Linked DNA regions of Homo sapiens: region 2 is linked to region 1. Evidence: promoter capture Hi-C in human tissues and cell types (Jung and others, 2019). All regions are on one chromosome and are shown on one strand. Each heading gives the region's core, a stretch centred on a gene start or on the middle of the fragment in contact. The rest is flanking DNA. Distances are from core to core; before and after follow the strand shown.

Region 1 (3,118 bases), core at 313-2,812:
AGTGTTCATGCGACTCTTCCATTTTCATTACCATAAGCAAACTTTTCTAGTTTCATTCAGCAGATGTCTCAAGGCTGCTGCAGCGCATCTCATACATATTTTGTAAATGAGAAGCCTAACCACACGGGGGACTGCAAGGCTGGGCAAGGGTCACACTGCACGGGCATCACCTGGACATGAGATGCAATGTTTGAATAATTATTAGTTTCACCCTTAAGGCCCTTCTCCTTTCAAACTTCCCTAGTACAATTCTCAAAATGCTGAAATAAACACATTCCACAAACTTTCTTGTAAGAGGGTTTAAAGTGTCCTAGGAAAGTTGTTTTACAGAAAAGCCTATGCTGTCAACTTTGCTTTTTAATGCCCTTAAACAATTCTATTAGTCACAGAGGAAAAAGTGAACATTTGTTAGTAATTAGAGATAAAACATCTCCAGTTCTGGGGCAGAGGAAGGGAGAGGCCACAAGAGGACCTGGCTGGGAGGGGAGATAGAGTCGAAAGCCACACACCCAAATTGGACCGCTTAAGAGTTGCACTTTCCAAAGTCAACTTCTAAGTCTACAAGGACAGCAACAATGTTTCAGTGGATTCTGAAGTTACATGTATCAACAATTTCCCCGGAAAGCTAACCCTCCACCGGGAACTCCAGGTGAATGAATGAGTGAGGGAATTCGCCAGATTGAGTTACAAAGCCTTTCCAACGATTATCAAGAGCAGGTGCTCGGTTACAACACAGAGGTATCCTCCTTCACAGCCTTTGGACCTTGCTGCGTGGAGATTTTCACAGATAAGAGGGGGGAAATAGAGAGACAGGCCTTCCTCCCCGGCCATCCACACCTTAGGTGGCCACACCATGAGCGGCCCCTCCCTCTAAGAACCTCACGCGACTTCTGTGGGGGCCGCAGGCCTCAAGCGGCCAGGCTGCAACCTCTCCGGACCTGCCAACTTTCAGGGGCGCCCCAAACATGCCCAAACATGGGGAGGTGCTTCCGGGGCTTTCCCACTCCCCTTCCCCACAGTTGAAGGACCATTTTCAGGGGCTCTCCGTAAACCCGGGGAGGGGGCCGCCCTGTAATCTCAGCTGTTCCGACCCCCAGGTGAGGAGGGGACACCTGACCCCCGGCGCCCTGCCACCCCGCGCGCACCCCGCCCCCGCGCCTCCCTGGATCGCCATAGCAACCGTCCCCCTCCCCGCGTGCCGGCGTCACGCGGGGCGCCCCTCTGGTCTCGGCAACAAGTCCCCCGCGCGGCCCGCGGCCTGCAGCCCTGGCCCGGCCTCGCCGCCCCGCGCCCGGCCCGGCTCCGCCCGGCCCGGCCGCACTCACTTGATCCTGGAGCCCATGGTCCCCAGGCCTCCTCATGGGCCCGCGGGCCCCGCTCGGCGCTGCGCTGCCCGCCCGCCCGCGGCCGACCGGCCTCCCTCTGGCGCTCTCCCCGCCCCTTCCTCCCTTCCCTCAGGCTGGGGCCCGCCCGCTCGAGGCTCGCTCCCTCGCCGCCGCCGCCGCCTCCAGGGGTTAATGTACTCGCTCCAGCCCGGCGAACGCCATGGTCGCCGGCGCGCGTGCCCGGCGCGCGCCGCCCCCTCCGCCTCTCACCACCGCCCCTCCCGCCCGCGCTGCCGCCGCCGCTGCCCGCTGGGGCTGCTGGGAAGTGTAGTCCGCTCGCGGGGGCGGGGCCGTGGCCGGTGGGGGCGGGGCGGGAGCGCGGTCACCCGCACGTCTCCCAGGGCGCGGGCCCCGGAGGACTCTGGCGTTCCGTTGCAGGCCCTTACACATCTGCACCCCACTGCGCCCCGCTGGAAACCTCCACTCACAGCCGCCCTGAAGAGACCCTAATCCTCTCATGGAGACCCCAAGCCCTCCCGATGAAACCGCCACCAATCCTCCCATTGGAGGCCTCCCACCCAGCCTCTCTAACGGAGAGCTAATCCCCCGCCCAGGCCTCCATGAAAACACGTTTTCCCTTTAACATCCCGCACCTTCCAGTAAGTTCCGTGCAGAACCTCTTCTCCATCACACCGTCCACTTCCCCATCTGAAGGCCTTTCCTCTTCCTTTCCCCTTAGAGCTTGAAGGAGACCCCACATACCTACAGGAAAGCCACCTGGGGGCTTCGTGGACCCACGTGGTGGCTCAGCTCTGCCCTCCCGCTGAGGACCTCTGCCTCCCTTTATCAGCCGTTTTGGGAACTCCAACATCGAAGCCTCCTGTTAACACAACAGTCCCTGATAGAGATTAACTCAATGCAAATGAAAGGATTTGAGAGCCGAGATCACCAGCCTGCTACCTACCCCTGCTCCCCCTTGGGATTCACTTCCATGAACACCTCAATTTCATCCCCTCTAGGGCCAGAGGGATCATAAAGGAAGCAATAATCACAGCTACCATTAGCCACCCTTTAATGAGCGGGTGAGTGCCCTTTCTGCATCAGACACAGTATTTCCGTACATCATTAGTGCCAATCCTCACAATAATCCTGTGTTCATCTCCCTAATTTACAAAGAGGAAACTGAGCCACATTCCCAAGGTCACATAACTAGCAACGAGTGAAGAAGCCAAGATTAGTGTCCAGACTGAATCATTCCAGACACCTGTGACATAGTCATGCTTTAAGGTGGCACCTTTGGCCACAAGTCCAAAGACATTTTTAATATTAGGCTTTTTTTCCTTTTTTTTTTTTTTTTTCCAATTTTCTGTCCCGAAATGCCATTCATCACTTCTGCCATTTTAGTTCTTATAAATGCATGGAGTGCCTCCCCACCCTACCCCCACCCCATAGCCTCTACGTAACTGGTCCTGCGTCCTAGCTCCCGGCCAGGATGGGAGGAAAGAAAGCCAGAAGATAAGTCGTAGAAGACTTCTTCTGTTGGAGTCACCTTCTGAATAAAGATAGTTTCTCCCTTTTGCCTCTGCCTTTAGGTTGTTGAAGTCAAAGGGTAAACTTTTTAAAATGAAAACCAAAAAAAAAGTGAAAATGTCCAAACTGTCATTTTGAATTTAAAGTCTTATGCACCCAGACACCAATACCGACTTGTAAACACCCCCAGGAGCAAAGCTCTGCTAGACAGGCAGGAGCTCTGTGGTGTTTATTCACCTATGAAACTTCTCCAAGGAACAGTT
Region 2 (3,118 bases), core at 407-2,906, 280 kb before region 1:
ACAATCAAATGGAAAGCTATTTATAATTGACTGTGCGACTACAGGAATAAATGAAATGTGCATTGGCACTGTAAAAAAAAAAAAATGAACAATTAATGAAAATGACATGCTGCCATATAAGGGGACTGTAGCTGACTCCTTTTTCTAAAATTTTCTTTCATCTTGCTGGTGTATCTTTCAATTAAAATTAGATCATTAAAAAGCCAGTCTTAAGACTGTCTACTCACAGTGCTGAGTTTGCTGCAAATGATGAGTATCCGGCGTTCGTACAGCATACTGGCGTACAGATGCAACATGTTGTTAACATCCACAGCCACAAAATATTCTGTCAGATTTCTCTAGGAGAAAGAAGAAGGCACGGTTTGTGGCTGATTTTCTTTGTTCTTATTATAACTGTATCTAATAAGAGCATAAGAAACATAAAATAATCAGAAAGTATACTCTGTTCTTTCCCTGTCCTTTTCTTTCTACCTGGGAGGCCAAATCCCCACATGTGTAAAATCATGAAGGGTAAAGTTGGAAGACACCTTACAGAGGAAGGAGCCTGAGCAATTACATCTTTGTGTGGTGATTACAACATGAGGTCGCATCCAGCACTTAGGTCAGTTCCTAAAGGTGAGCAGAACAGGAATTCTACATATCTTACAAATGAGGAAACCAAGACTCAAAGAGATTCTCCAAGATGGAACAGTCTAATAAGCAATGAAGACAGGACTGCTGCTCAAATCTTTGGGCCCCAGATCCTAGAACCTTCCCGATGTGCTGTGCCATACGCCTAAGCAAAAGAAAGTACCCAGGGACCAAAATGCTTCTGGCACTGAGCCTGTTTCTGTGCAGGAGATGCCACCCACGAAGGCCAGGCGAGCTCCTCTCCCGTCATCACTGCTGGTATCCCCTCCTTCACAGTTTACATTTGCTAAAACGGCTCAGCTGGAATTAAGGCAATTTCGAACATTTACAATTTCCAGGTATTTCACTCAAAAGGGGAAAAAAAATTGAAGACAAACAGCAGCAAGTTGTGACAAAGCAGTGTTTTAACTAGCTTTTTTCCACCCCTGTAGCCTGGGCTTCAGTCTTTTAATTAGTACTATAGATTGGTACTCTTCAGATTTCAGAAAAAAAATGGAATGTGTTTCATTTATACAACGCTTTCTATACCCACCTGACTTTAATAATACACATGAATATGCTAATTTCTTCAATGTTACAGGTTTTCAATGCCATACAATATAATCCTCTGAAAATGAAAGGGGTTTGGGAGGGAAGGAATGCTATTGCCAGGCGTTGCAGTTTATAATGATTAAAGATCTATAACCCATAAATTGAAGTAAACCAGGTGGATTTTACATGCAAAATAGCACAAAGTGCTTTTCAACAATATTATGGGCTGGGAGTAAAAATGGGCACTTATCTTATAATTTATTATTGTTTGACTGAAGTACCAAGTTAACCATCAACCTTTATAAATACAGAGCAAGTGAATTAACAGCTCTATATACTAACTACCTATCAAGTGCCAGCCACTGTACCAGACACTGTGGATGTGTAATTGTGCAGTCTTCACAAAAATCCAGTGAGGCGTTATTCTTTCCAATATAAAGTCTGGGAGAGGTCAGCAACTGGCAAAGTCAGATCTGACTCCATGGCCTATACGCTTTCCCGTACACAACACTGTCCCTCTTATGCACATCTATTGTTTGAAAGATTCACATCTATTATTAAACATGTCACTTAATCTTCAAACTGTTCCTTGAACTAAGTATTATTATCCCTCTACGAAGATGAGAAAACAGTGGCACAGAGAAGTTGTGTAATTTGACAAAGGTCACGCAGTAAGTGGATGTGACATGATTCAGTCCTGAGTGGGTCTGTCTCTAAATCCATGCTCTTTTTATTCCACACAAAATTGTAGGTAAAACTCATATTTGGAAAAAGAAACGCAACAAGATCAAGTATGCCTAAAGAAAGGAAAATGCTTCTGTTAAAAATTACCGTTACCCCATTCACGGAGTGATCTGTATGTGGCAGGCAACAGGTGCTTTTCCTGTGTTCTTTCCAATCTTCCCAACAAGCTTGAGACAGGCATTATCATCTCCATTATATAGATGAGAAATAAAAAAAAAAAAACTGGAGGCTCAGGAAGTCTCAGTAGACTTCTAAAGGTCACCCAGCTAGAAAGGGGAGAGCCATGTTTCAAAACTAGATCTCCTCAATCCAAAACTCATACCCTAACCACCACACCAACTTGCCTCTTAACAAACTCAGTGAAAAACAAAACAGCAAACACCAAAGGCAGTCGGAAGGAGTCAACCAGTGTATCTTGGTTCCTCCACTGGACGGAGGAACACAGAGCTAATGATGTAAGGGTGGGGTTTGCTCTGAAGACGGTGACATGGCACAGCTCTCCTCACAAACAAAAATATGAGGCCCTTCACTGAGCATTTCAGTAAAAAGCTTAACTGCTGATGAATTACATGAATTTTTCTTTTAGGAGAGGATGGAAGTAAAAAGAAAATAGAAATGAGGAGCTTAAAGAAGGCCAGAAAGCCCATTAGCACTTTTGACAGATCCAAAGATAACTCTGAAGCCACCAAAACGTGGCCTCAAGAGTCTGCCAAGAAGCTTCACGCTGGGGAGAAATATGTTACACAGCTTGCCGTCCAAATAGGGAGACACAGCGTCAGAGACAAATCCTGCGCCTTATTTTGGTGGGAGAAAAAAAAATCACAAGGATACTTTTGTGGATGGGAAGGAAACATTTCTGAAATAAAAACACCATTTGATTGAGGCATGTCCCCCATCTCCAATCAGATTCTGAGGGACTCAGGTGCTTGTTCCAAAAACTCTACACAGGTATGTTAAAAATACGTAACATTTAGCCAAATTCTCTCTAAACTGTCATGTACTTTTTTTGGTATTTCTCATCCCATCTGTGCTGATTACCAAGATATTTGTGTCTAAACAGAAGCTGTCTTTCTTATCTGCTTCCTCCCCTGCCTCTTTCCTTCTGGGATGCCACCCGCCTGAGCGGGTGGGAGTGGGTGGGAGTGCCAACAGCCCTGGGAACCTCGCTCAGCCGTGGGAGCACCTGTGGGGCAGAGCGGGGCCCCAGGAGCAG

Evidence for each region. The method cuts DNA at HindIII sites, captures the fragments that hold promoters and counts their contacts. A contact is called where the count stands out against the background at its distance.
Region 2: a fragment that was not itself captured here is called in contact with the fragment with the promoter of DENND1A in region 1 in 7 of the 25 tissues and cell types used here (adrenal gland, aorta, dorsolateral prefrontal cortex and 4 more).

What each region holds. Positions count from the first base shown.
Region 1 is chr9:123,928,564-123,931,681 of GRCh38, forward strand. DENND1A (DENN domain containing 1A) reads right to left here and starts at 1,563. Exons shown (of 24, transcript NM_001352964.2): 1 at 1,326-1,563. The coding sequence starts at 1,342. RefSeq lists enhancers at 420-499, 435-1,120, 750-949 and a silencer at 1,300-1,789. The HindIII fragment of the contact is 15,721 bases long and covers 1-3,118 here.
Region 2 is chr9:123,651,786-123,654,903 of GRCh38, forward strand. It overlaps DENND1A (DENN domain containing 1A), which reads right to left. Exons shown (of 24, transcript NM_001352964.2): 9 at 228-338. Among named protein-coding and RNA genes, the nearest start is that of MIR7150, 170 kb to the left of the region's middle. RefSeq lists an enhancer at 3,083-3,118. The HindIII fragment of the contact is 3,988 bases long and covers 1-3,118 here.